2 separate regions of the Homo sapiens genome follow, and region 1 is linked to region 2. Evidence: promoter capture Hi-C in 16 types of primary human blood cells and fetal thymus (Javierre and others, 2016). All regions are on one chromosome and are shown on one strand. Each heading gives the region's core, a stretch centred on a gene start or on the middle of the fragment in contact. The rest is flanking DNA. Distances are from core to core; before and after follow the strand shown.

Region 1 (5,437 bases), core at 429-2,928, 3.4 Mb after region 2:
TCCTGTTCCCTGCTGACTGGCATATGAACACAGAGGTGGCAAGCCACCCTGGACTATAAGGACAGGGGCAATATTCTAGAGACGGTGGTGCAAAAAGGTAGAAGGAACTAGGGTTCCCCAAACTCTAGAGCTGCCACATAGGCCTGGACTGTGTACAGTGAATTCTAATATAAGAATAAACTCTCTTGTTTAAGCCAGTGTTCCTTTGTTCTCTCTCATACCAGCTGAATCTTTATCCAAAAAATCATTGAAGAGAAAAATTTCATCTGGAAATAATTTCTCTTAATAGAAACTCCCCCTGACATATTTTAGAGCTTTGTTAATTTCTATATAACCATAATATTCTCAGTATGAAAGGTGACTTGGTAAATACTTCAAACAGTGAAGCCAAATACTTCTTCTAGAGGCATGCCTTACCCACCTAAAATCATGGTTAATATTTATTTCCCACTTGACCTCTCCCAGCATACACAGCTATAAACTGTAAAAGCTATTTTCCAAAAATAGATTAATGACATAGTAAAACTAATGTCCAAGCTTATTAAAACTGTACAACCCTAAGATGAAGCTGTATCCCCCAACCTAAATTAATATTCTTTTTAATAACAGCAGTTCTCCCATGTTCCTATCATACAAACATGCAAGTATTTGTCAAACTGCACACCAACATGTATATGTGTCTCTTCCATACATTTTTACTTGCAGGATTAACCAAAGTCATGAATCAAAATCTTCCAAAATTGTTAATCACACGTGGAGTTTCAAATGTCTGTGTCAGATTGCTGAAAATTATTTGATTTTGTAGGTTAAATCAGGCCTACTCACTGAAGTACTCAATAAAAACCCTACTACTATTTCACATATACCAGTAGTATGTACAATATTTATATGCTGAGTCTTAATTATTTCTTTTGAATTATATCTGAAATAAATACAATTTTCATATATCACAACAAAGCTATTTGTGCAAACGACAAGATTATATACTACAAAAGTTAATTGTATCATTAAGAATAAATTAGAAATAAAGTATCATTTTCAATGAGGAAGACTATCTGATTTTCAACGTATTACCATTTCACTCCATTATCCTTAAGGTTCTAGAAAGTTATGGCTATACTGTTTAAAATATTTATCCCATCACAAGAGAATTTTAAAGTCAAGAACATATTGATATTTCTGAAAGTATTATAGTATCACAAGATACACAAAACATTGTTAAATAGCTTATACAATAAAAACAGTTGCATATTTATCTCAAGTCAGAGGATACTGTAATTTACTTTAGATTAAGTACTTATCTGAAACTAATTATATTATAAAGAAAATTAAAGCCCCAAATCTACTTATTCAGCAGTTGGATTTATAAAAAAATCAAAGTGAGATAATTTTGCCCTTTCACTGCTAATTACTGTTTTTTTGTTTGTTTGTTTTTTGTTTTGTTTTTGAGACAGAGTCTCACTCTGTTGCCCAGGCTGGAGTACAGTGGCACGATCTCAGCTCACTGCAAGCTCTGTCTCCTGGGTTCACGCCATTCTCCTGCCTCAGCCTCCTGAGTAGCTGGGACTACAGGCGCCTGCCACCACGCCCGGCTAATTTGTTTTTGTATTTTTAGTAGAGACGGTGTTTCACCATGTTAGCCAGGATGATCTCGATCTCTTGACCTCGTCTTCTGCCCACCTCGGCCTCCCAAAGTGCTGGGATTACAGGCGTGAGCCACTGCGGCAAATTCAGCAGACAACAGTTATACTGACAGGAAACAGTAAAATGTACTACTGAATGTATAAATCTATAAGATACTTCAATGGCTTAAGGAGTTAATCACCAATGAAGCCCAAATTCCGGAGGATAATGATCACATTCAAAATCTAATTTGACCAGCAACTAAATATAAATGGTACATGAAGAATATCAAGAGACTTAAAAGTTTGTTCTTCGTGTTTTGAGAACTCTTTGGAGAAGTCGAGGCTTAATCTGACCCTATTTGTGTGCAGAGACTTATGAAGTTATTATAGGAATCCAAAATAAGATAGAAACATTCAATCACTTCCATATTCACAAATATGAGGAAATTACCTGATTGTTGTGGTAGAAGTGTCTTTGCCTACTAAAAAGTGGTGTCTGCCCTCTCTGATCTGCTGAGCCCATGTGGGATGAAACCATATTACATGTGAAAAATGGCCAGCATAAACTGCAGGCATAATCCAATTTTCAATACTTAATTCTCTGGAAAAGAAACATAGAGACAACATTAAAACTTTTATTTTTATTTTTTCCCAAGTGTAATTTTATCCACAACATTTTAAGACCACAGGTCTCAAAGTGTGGTCCCTAGAGTGGTTCCTGAGACTTTTTCAGGGACATCACTATTACAAAACTATTTTCATGAAAATACTAAGGCATTATTTCCTGTTTTCATTTACTGACATTTGCAAAGATGGTGCAAAGGCACTGGTGGGTTGATGTTCCAACATTAATTAAGGCAGCAGCACCAAACTGTTAGTAGTTACTATATTCTTCATTACCAACCACTGCCAAAATAAATAAATAAATAAATATAAAAGTGTCATTCGAGAACATCTTGATTTTATTAAATTTCCATCCTGAGTATACATTTTTAAATATTATGTGTGGCAAAATGAGAAATGCACAGAAAGCTCTCCTGCTACATAGTTTGAAGCATAACAGTTGTCTCAAGGAAAAGCACTTGTGATTGAACTTTGAGGTGAACACCATTTATCTTGAAAGGAGTGGTCAAGAAACTATGGTTATTCACACTTGATACTGAATTGCTGAATTCTACATTTCAAATAAGCTTTAATAAACTACTACTTTTCAAGTTTTGGCGCACTATCAAAGAATATTCACAATTATCTAAAAAGGCTATCAAAATATTCTTTCCTTTTCCAATTACATGCCTGTGAAAGCCTGAATCTTCATCATATATTTCAACCAAAACAGCATATGGCAATGGACTAAATGCAGAAATAGACGTGAGAATCCAATGGTCTCTATAAAGGCAAATATTAAAAGGATTAAACATTGGCTAGGCTGTTTTTGTAAACAAAGTTTTTTTGGTTTGTTTCTTTTAAGAGATGGGGTCTGGTTATGTTGCCCAGTCTGGAGTGCAGCAGCTATCCACAGGCTTTGATCACAGCCTGGAACTGCTGGCCTCAAGTGATCTTCCCACCTTAGCTTCCTGAGTAGCTGGGACTACAGGCTCATCCACCATGCCCAGCTTGTAAATAAAGCTTTATTGGAACACAGCTACTGTCATTTGTTTACACAGTGCTTGTGATTGCTTTCACACTACAAAGGCAAAGATTAATAGTTGCAACAGAGACCATATAGCCAGCAAACCTAAAATATTTGCTAATCTGGCTCTTTAAGAAAGTTGTCAACACTTGTTCTAAATAAAATGAAAAAGACAAAAAGACAAACAAAAAACCCCCAAACCCATGAGTTTAGCAAAGTCTATTTCCTATAATTGCTTATTATCTACTGCAAATTGTACTTCAAACACAAAAGACCATAAATAAAATCACATATTACCCAAAGAGTGTTTCCTTATCAAACACGGTGTCTGCTGGCATATTCACAGGAATAAGGAGGTCTGGATGTGAGTCGAAATGTAAAAAACTTACATTACTGGCAGGAAGATGCTTTGAGCCTATGGCCCGGTATATAAAGGGTAGAACCTGTAAAAGACACAGGCACACAATAAGAATTAACACTGAAACCATGAGCACACACTCAACTGCAGACTGAAAAACAATGCTAAATAATGCACATAATTGAAAGCATACTATGTTGCTGTAAAGTGGAAAAACATAAAATTTGTTTACTGTAGATGGTGCAGATGATAATCTCAAGCATTACTTTGTCCTCAGAACTTCCAACCTGCATCTCCAGCGGCCTTCCTGCTGCCCCCTTGAACTCAACAGGTCATGTGGGGAAACAGACCAGGACTGGGGCTCAGGAACAAACTACCGCTTAATGCCTGTTCTAACATTAACTAGGTGTTCAAGGTACCCTAGGTCTCAAAGTATTCTTTTTTTTCCTTTAAAAAGGGATAGGGGCTTGTCAGTTGCCCAGCCTGGAAAGCAGTGGTGTGATCATGGCTCACTGCAGCCTTGGACTCCTGGGTTCACACGATCCTCCCACCTCAGTCTCCTGAGTAGCTGGGATTACAGGCACGCACCACTACGCCCAGCTAATTTTTTCACTTCTATTTTTGTAGAGATGGGATTTCGCTCTGCTGTCCAGGCTGGTTAGGGTCTTTTTGGTACACTTAGAATGGTGGGGTTGGGCTAGGTGGTCTATAAAGGCCATTTCTCCTCTTACATCTTCTCTAATTCTAGGTTTAATACCTAATTTGAAAGCACCGTCTAACCTAGGCTTTCTCATTCTCTCAAGGTCATAGACACTATATCCAGGTCCTGAGAAACCTATCTTCCTCTCCTATTAGCTGTCACCAACAGTAAATCCCTCTTCTTTTTTAACGTCCAGAGAACTGCCTCCCATCCCAAGCCTACTGATGCTACTTTAAAACATATTTATTAGATCCATGGGCCTCCTTTGTTGACTTGGAAAAGTCTAGATTAAGACACCAATTTGGCTACTGTAAATCAGCACGGCCATAAACATGGAAACCCCTTTTAGTGTTTATCTATGCAGGGCACCGTGTTAAATTTTTTTTTTTTTTTACGCAATATGGGCCGTGCGCAGTAGCTCACGCCTGCAATCCCAGCACTTTGGGAGGCCGGCGGGGGCCGATCACGTGAGGTCAGACTTTCAGACCATCCTGGCTAACGTGGCGAAGCCCCGTCTCTACTAAAAATACAAAAATTAGCTGGGTACGGTGATGCGTGCCTGTGATCCCAGCTACTCAGGAGGCTGAGACAGAAGAATCGCTCGAACCCAGGAGGCGGAGGTTGCAGTGAGCCGAGATCGCGCCACTGCACTCCAGTCTGGGTAACAGAGAGAGACTCCGTCTCAAAAAAGAAAAAAAAAAGATTTTTAAACACAGTATGCACACAATAATACTCCTAAGAGCCCTGTGAGTCCTACGATTACTGTCCCCATTTCAGATCAGAGCCCACGTTCCAAGCATAAAGCCTCCCATCTAAACAGCAGGGCTGTGGTGGCGATTCCAGGAGATACTTGGAAGCCAGAGTTAACTGCAGGTTAAGAACACAGGGCTCTGCAGCCAGACTGTCCGGTTTCGAATCCCGATGCCACCTTTTGTTTGGTTCTGGGATTTGGGGGCAAACCGAGGTAAATAAGTTGCCCCGACTCGTAGGAAGCGCCCATAAATGTCAGTTCTCATTCTTCCTAGTTAGCTGTTTTGGGGTCCTCTCCACAGCAACGGAATAGGGCAGTTTAACTCTGGTTAACTCTCTGGCCTCCGATGCTAAGGTTGCGCCCTCTGCTTGGC
Region 2 (7,189 bases), core at 4,180-6,679:
GGCAAAAGGAAGTCAGGAAAGAATTTCAAAGTTCTGGGAAGAAGGCAAAAGCAATTCTAAGACCAGATCTCCAAATTCCTTGAGTAGAGAAATGTTCAGGATCCTCTCTCTGAGTTTCTTATGAAACACAATTTTGTAAGAATTTTCTTTGCAGCCTTTCTTTCTTGACAACCACCTGGTTGTACACTGTTTAACAGAAAGATGACTTGCACAGTAGCTCTTTGTAAGAGCAGGATCTTGCACAGTTATGTCAAAGCTTAAAACCTATTTCCTTGTAGCAAAAAGTTAATTGAGAATCTGAAAACTCAGAACTTCAACATAGTAATTTTCATCTGGAAATTATTTTAAATGATCACACCATCATTAGTAATATCTGTCACAGATGCAGAAGCTTAATTCAATTTCTTCATATAAAGTAGTTTTGAGGATTACCATTCTTGTATTAAAACACTGTATTGGTTGAGCACAGTGGCTCATACTTGTAATCCTAGCACTTTGGGAGGTCAAGGCAGGTGGATTGCTTGAGGTCAGGAGTTTGAGACCAGCCTGGCCAACATGCTGAAACCCCGTCTCTACTAAAAAAAAAAAAAAAATACAGGTGTGTGGTGGCACACACCTGTAGTCCCAGCTACTCAGGAGGCTGAAGCAGGAGAATCGCTTGAACCTGGGAGGCAGAGGTTGCAGTGAGCTGAGATTGCGCCACTGCACTCCAGCCTGGGTGACAGAGCAAAACTGCGTCTCAAAAAAAAACAAAAAACGAAAACCTTCTACCTGTCTGATATCAGTAAATCTATCATACACCAAAGGGTATTTAATGAGAAGTCACCTAAAGTATCAAAATTAAAACTATATAATATCACCAAACTTTGTTTCACCCCCTATGATATCAGATAATTGGAGCAATCATTTCCAAGCTTCCTTCTGACCCAAACGTTAGATTTTATGTGATGACTAGGTGACAGATGTTTCAGAACACACCAAAAACCATTTAATGTACTAAATTTGAAAAAACAACCACCTATATTGATAACTGCTCCCAACATCATAAACTAGGATGGGAAGGACAGCGTGATGCTCACCATGCTCTTTCCTGAGGGTCACTCAACACATCATATGCTGCTTGGATTAATTTAAATTGTTCAGCTGCTTCTGCGGCATTATCCAGATTTTTATCTGTTAAAGTCACAGAAATTTAAGTCAATCAAAAACGTACAGGACAGAATCTAAATAAGACATTTTCCATCAGAAATGCCACAAACAGATGAGACGTGCACAAAACAAGAAACAACCAGGGCCAAGCAGAAAGACTCCACGTAACAGTCAATAATCAGGATTTGTTAAAAGCAACAATCTAAGCAGAAATTTCAGGCTTTTCCCTAAGCCTTGGTACATCACTAAACAGTCAACTGGGCTGGGCGTGATGGCTCACGCCCACTGTAATCCCAGCACTTTAGGAGGCCGAAGCAGGTGGATTACTTGAGGTCAGGAGTTTGAGACCAGCCTGGTGGTCAACATGGTGAAACCCCGTTTCTGCTAAAAATACAAAAGATTAGCCCAGTGTGGTGGCGCATGCCTGTAGTCCCAACTACTCGGGAGGCTGAAGTGGGAGAATCACTTGAACCCAAGAAGCAGAGGTTGTAGTGAGCCTAGATTGCACCACTGTGCTCCAGCAAGACTCCATCTCTAAAATGAATAAAATAAAATAAAATAAAAGTAAAACAAGTCAACTGGATATCCACAAAAGGAAAAACCTGAGTAGTATAAATTTTACTTTTAAAAGGAGTAAAATAAATAAAATCAGTTCTAGAAAGACTTATTTTGTACTAGATTATGTTTAGTGCTGACATTGTTTTTTTCTTTCTCATCAATGTATATCAAAAGAAATCTCATAAAGTTTAAAAAATATACACTAATTAGTTATTATTTCCTTAGCTGTGCTTCCTGAACCATGGAATTCAGAAAGCGTCCTTGCCTCAGGGTGGTACCCAGCTTGCAAGACAGCACCCCGCCTCCTGGCATTCACACCTTGTGCAGTCCCTTCTGTGTCAGCAAGGGTAGTCTGTGTGACCAACAGGAGATGGCAGAAGTAATGGTACCTCACTTCCGAGATGAGGTTATAAAAGACTGCAGTTTCTACCTTGGGCTTTCCCTCTCTCTTGATCACTCTGGGAGTGGCCAGCTGCCATAGCATGAGCAACTCAGGCTGCCTATGGAGAAGCTGGAGAAGCTCATGGGGTGAAGGAGGCCAATAGCCGGCAGAGCACTGAGGCCTGCCACAACCACATGAGTTGGTGGTTGGTGAGCTGGTGAGTTGGTGAGCTGGAAGCAGGTTCTTTCAGACAATGAGAAAGCCAAAACCACCTAGCAAAGCCGCTCCCAGATTCTCATCCTTAGAAACTGTGGGAGTCCATATAGTCAACATAGGCTTGCTGTTTTTGTTGTTTGTTGTCTTAAGCCCTGAGGTATTGGTAATTTGTTACACAGCAATAGACAACTAATATATTCAGAACGTAAAGCATTTTGAATTGACTATGGAGAACACTAAAGTTCGTTTTTTTTTTTTTTTTTGAGATGGAGTCTCGCTCTGTCACCAGGCTGGAGTGCAGTGGCGCGATCTTGGCTCACTGCAACCTCTGCCTCCTGGGTTCAAGCGATTCTCCTGCCTCAGCCTCCCAAGTGGCTGGGACCACAGGCGTGCGCCACCACGCCCAGCTAATTTTTGTGTTTTTAGTAGAGACAGGGTTTCACCATGTTGGCCAGGATGGTCTCCATCTCCTGACCTCAGGTGATCCGCCCACCTCAGCCCCTCAAAGTGCTGGGATTACAGGTGTGAGTCACCGCACCTGGCCGGAGCACACTAAAGTTCTTTAAGCTACAGCTCAATACTTCCCTTCTAAGAAGTTACAAGAAAACATGACAGCAATGTCTTATCTACAAATAGTTTTGCCGCCCTAGAACATGGCTCTTCAGGGCTTCCTGCTGCCCATTCTCAGATACCATCACACTGATGCCATAAATTATGATGATATTTAGAGAAGATATTTGCATTCAGTTCCTAACAGGTTTGGTTTCAAAGGAGTTAACTGATACTTTAGTCATATTTGCATGCTTCTTCCTAGCACTGATTTCTAATTAATCACCAAATCTGGTCATTTTTCCTTCCCAACATCTCCTCCCCTTGCGCTTTCCCCCTCCCGCTGACCCCAAGCCTGGCTTGGGCCCTTACCTGTCTGTCCACTGCGGACTCTCCCTAACTTCTGTCTCCAGCCCTCTTCAATCCACTAAGTTGCCTTCATAGTACTCTCCCATGGCAGCTTAATAAAACCAGCCACAACTCTCCCTTATTTAGCGAAGCAAATTTCACAGTCCTTGGGCTAATATTCAAGATTACAAGAAATACAATCTGATTTCAAACTACTCTTGTACTCAAGAAATACAATCTGATTTAAAATCACTCTTCAGAAAATTACATACGCTTTTGGTCACAGCATTCGCTACTTCATTTACCCTTTCCCACCTAGAAAGTCAAGGAATTCCGAACTTCCTTCTAATTCCTAACTTGATTTCTAACAGTAACAACCCAAACTCCTAAGAATATGCTTCTACACTAACCCAAACTCTAAGAATATACTTCTACACTATTTTTACATTTATTAATTTTGGCTGTATCTTCTGACTTACTGCTATGATGAACATCAGTTCATTTACTTCTGCTCTTCTAATATATTTATAATCACATTTTTTCACGCCTCTGTTGGTAAGCATAACTTTAAGTAACAGACCCACACCTCTATCTCTCACTCCATCACCATAGCCATTCCCTTTTGACTTTGGGTCCCTGACCTTTCCTTCCACTCCTCTCATAATCCCTATTTTTCAGACCTGCAATACACACCACCTTCAGTCAAACTGTCCCCCGGAACATCTTTTGTCCTCCACCATGCTATCCTCCATACTGTTGAGTTCACTTTTCCAAATTGCATTCCTCTACGATCCAGTCCAAACTCCTCTGAGAAGGGGAAGACTCAATACAAAATGGTAACTCCCTCCCTGAATTCCTGGAGCATATATTAGTTGTTCCATTAATCTAACCACCAATTATGTATGTTGCGATTTTTTTCTGGCAGTTGTATTTAACTTTTCATTTGTGTAAGGCAGAAAGTTGTTTTCCTAACAAGACTCTAAGACCCCTGTCTCAGCATTTCCAAATCTACTTAGTAGAGTGCAGTGACTTGCATATATTGGATACTCTGTAACCGTGTTTACTGATGAATGCTAATATGAAAGCCTCTTCATATGAACCTCAAAAAGCTGAAAGTCAACTACTCTCTTAGTTTCCCAGCCTGGAAGATCAGATTACTTCATAAAAGTCACACAGGCCTGGATTACAGACCAATGAAACATCCAAAGGAAGGATACTTCTAAGTAAACATACAAACTTTACTGGGGAAGCCGCCTGATTAAAACCTTCCCCGGCAGAATCATGTCCAAAGTGAAGTACAAGGTCTGCTTAAACAGCTTATTAAAAGAAAAAAAAAACAGCGAAAAAAGCGCATCCCTATTGAAAAGATATTTTACTAGCTCCCGTGTCTTAACTTCTTAACTAAGAAACGAAAAGAGCCATACATCAGGTTGAAGTATCTGGGATTCCCGGACGAGGTGGAGGGCAGCGGAGGAAAAACACCGAGAGGCTGCGCTGCAAGGGACGCAGGGAAAAGCAAGCCTGGGGCAGGTCTGAGTTCCGAGTTCCCGACTGCTCCCTCGTGGTGTCTGCGACCCGGTAGCGGGAGCAAGTGAGGTTGTTGGACTGCAGTTTTCCCCCTACAGTGGCGATGCGGGGCCGGGGTCGCGGGTATGAGGAGATGGGGTGTGAGCCGGGGTGCGCCAGGGCAGAGCGCTTCGCCCACCGAGACGGGCAGGGCGGCTCCGGGCACTGGCCGGGCGGGGCAAGGAGCTCCTAGGCCGCCAGGTCCCTCTCTGCTGGCTCCGCGGAGTCCGCCCGGGGGAAGGGAAGGTCGGGGAGGGCCGGGCTTCTCCGAGTGGCCGCGGGGGCTGCGGGACAGGTACTTACCCGGGTGCCATTTCAGGGCCAGCTTCCGATAGGCCTTCTTGAGCTCCTCCTCGCTGGCGTCGCGCCGCACCCCCAGCGCCTCATAGTGACACTTCATCGCCCGACCGGGCGGGCGGCCGGCGCTGGGGCCCGGGACGGGGTCGGGGCCCGGGCCCGGGCCGAAGCGGCGGCGGCGGCGGCGCTGGCAGTCCTCTCCGGCGGGAGTCCGCCGCCCGCACCGGGCCAGCCAGCGAGCCCGGCGGCGGCGGCGGCGGCGGCGGTGGTGTAGGTCAGTGAAGGCGCGCGGTGGCGGCAGACGACGCAGGCTGCGGCAAGCGGGAGCGCGGCGGGGGCGGTGCCGGCGGCCGCCGCTTCGCATGGGCTAGGGGTGGGCTCTGTGCCGGAAAGGGCCGCGCGGGAGGGGGTGGGGCCTCGGCGGGGTGAGAGGCGAGGCCCCGAGGAAGGAAGGCGGGGCCTTGGCGAGGAGAGAGGCGGGCCGCGCAGGAGAAAGGCGGGAGCTTGGCGGGGAAAGAGGCGGGCCGCGTGGGAGGAAGGTAGGCCTTGGCCGGGAAGAACAGGAGGAAGGCGGGACCTTGGTGTGAGAGGCGGGGCCTCGGCGGGGCGAGAGGCGGGGCCGCGCGGAAGGGAGGCAGGGCCACGCTGGTGTCATTGTGAGGGGCACAGATGGCGGTCAGTGTGAGTGGCAGCCGACCTGAGGGCTGAAGGGGGAGATAGGAGCTGGGATGGGAGAGGATTCTGGAAAATATCTGATTATAATTTCTCAATGGATCCCCGTTTTTATAGATAAGGCGATTCAGACTCCAAGTGGTCAAGTGGTTGGCTCAAGCCTCCTCAGCTAATACAGTAGCAGAATTCGGTTGGACTGAATATCAGGTTTTTTTTTTAATCTCTTTAATTCTCTTCAGCTGCCACTTAAGATATCTGGTATTGATCATCTTGACCAATATGCTTGAGAAAGGACAGTTAGATTATTTAAGCGGAAACAATTTAAAAGGGAAGCATCAACACACTTAATGAAAAGCCTTACCACCAACATGGATGAAATTGTGCTGATCTATCCATCCAACACACTTTAATCCTAACTTTCTGGCCTCTAATCCTACCTTTCCAAGATTGGTTTAGGTTAAGAAAGCAGTTAAAGGATAGTATTTAACTGGTAGGTTTTGGTTGATCTGACTATCTGCACAATTATTCCAAACACTTTGAAAGGTATCAAAATAATACCATAATTATTAAAATGCATTAATACACCAATATATTTCACTGTAATGTGGAATGTTTACATGCATCAGTTAGGTGTGGGTTGTATTTACTAACCATGTATGGTTAGCTATGTTGCTAATATCTATTGCACAGGGTTGGCGTACCCAAGCGGTTTAGTAAGGTTATCCTTCTCTTCCCCAATATGCTGCCCCCAGTAAAATAAAAAACCCACGCTAAGCTTCATCAGGTTACTTCACACGCCACTGACCAACCAACTCACTACTCAGAATTCATACACTTCCCTTTTTTCCAGAGGAAGATTCTACACAGTCTCAGTTAGTTGGTAAATTGGTAATGGATAAGGATTGAGAAGTCTGAGTTTGGGGGAGAATGAAACCTTTCCCCTCCTGAGAACAGAATTGGGATGGTGGGCGGGGGGAAGGGAGGGACAAAAAAAAAAAAAAAAACGGAAAGGGAAAGTATTTTTTTCCCTCCAACTTAATTTGGAGTATTTTCTCCCTCCAACTTGATTTGGTTTTGGATACAGCCTGTAGGAATCACTTACTTCTTTTACCTTCTGAAGTAAGAAGGATTTTTGCCTGTAACATTGTATAATTAAAGGTAACTATGCTGGATATAAATTTCAGTCTAAAGGAACATCTTGACCAGGCGTGGTGGCTCATGCCTGTAATCCCAGCACTTTGGGAAGCCGAGGCAGGAGGATCCCTTCAGCCCAAGAGTTCAAGACGAGCCTGGGCAACATAGCGAGAACTTGTCTCTACAAAAAAAAAAAAAAGCCAGGCATGGTGGCGTGGGCCTGTAGTCCTAGTTACTCAGGAGGCTGAGGCAGGAATACTTGAGCCCAGGAGTTAGAGCCTGCAGTGAGCTATGACCACACCACCACACTACAGCCCT

What was found. Contacts are between HindIII fragments. The CHiCAGO score rates a contact against its expected background, and 5 or more counts as called.
Region 1: a fragment that was not itself captured here is called in contact with the fragment with the promoter of DNAJC21 in region 2 in 5 of 17 cell types (total B cells, M2 macrophages, total CD4 T cells and 2 more); the score reaches 9.4 in total B cells.

What each region holds. Positions count from the first base shown.
Region 1 is chr5:31,532,533-31,537,969 of GRCh38, reverse strand. It overlaps C5orf22 (chromosome 5 open reading frame 22), which reads right to left. Exons shown (of 9, transcript NM_018356.3): 2 at 3,553-3,698; 3 at 2,077-2,226. Among named protein-coding and RNA genes, the nearest start is that of C5orf22, 3.0 kb to the right of the region's middle. The HindIII fragment of the contact is 2,278 bases long and covers 540-2,817 here.
Region 2 is chr5:34,927,799-34,934,987 of GRCh38, reverse strand. DNAJC21 (DnaJ heat shock protein family (Hsp40) member C21) reads right to left here and starts at 5,429. Exons shown (of 12, transcript NM_001012339.3): 1 at 5,072-5,429; 2 at 1,080-1,173. The coding sequence starts at 5,168. It overlaps LOC124900961 (a long non-coding RNA gene), which reads left to right and starts at 5,307. Exons shown (of 2, transcript XR_007058731.1): 1 at 5,307-5,339; 2 at 5,855-7,189. RefSeq lists enhancers at 4,664-4,833, 4,300-4,945 and silencers at 4,974-5,173, 5,204-5,273, 5,284-5,753. The HindIII fragment of the contact is 5,598 bases long and covers 917-6,514 here.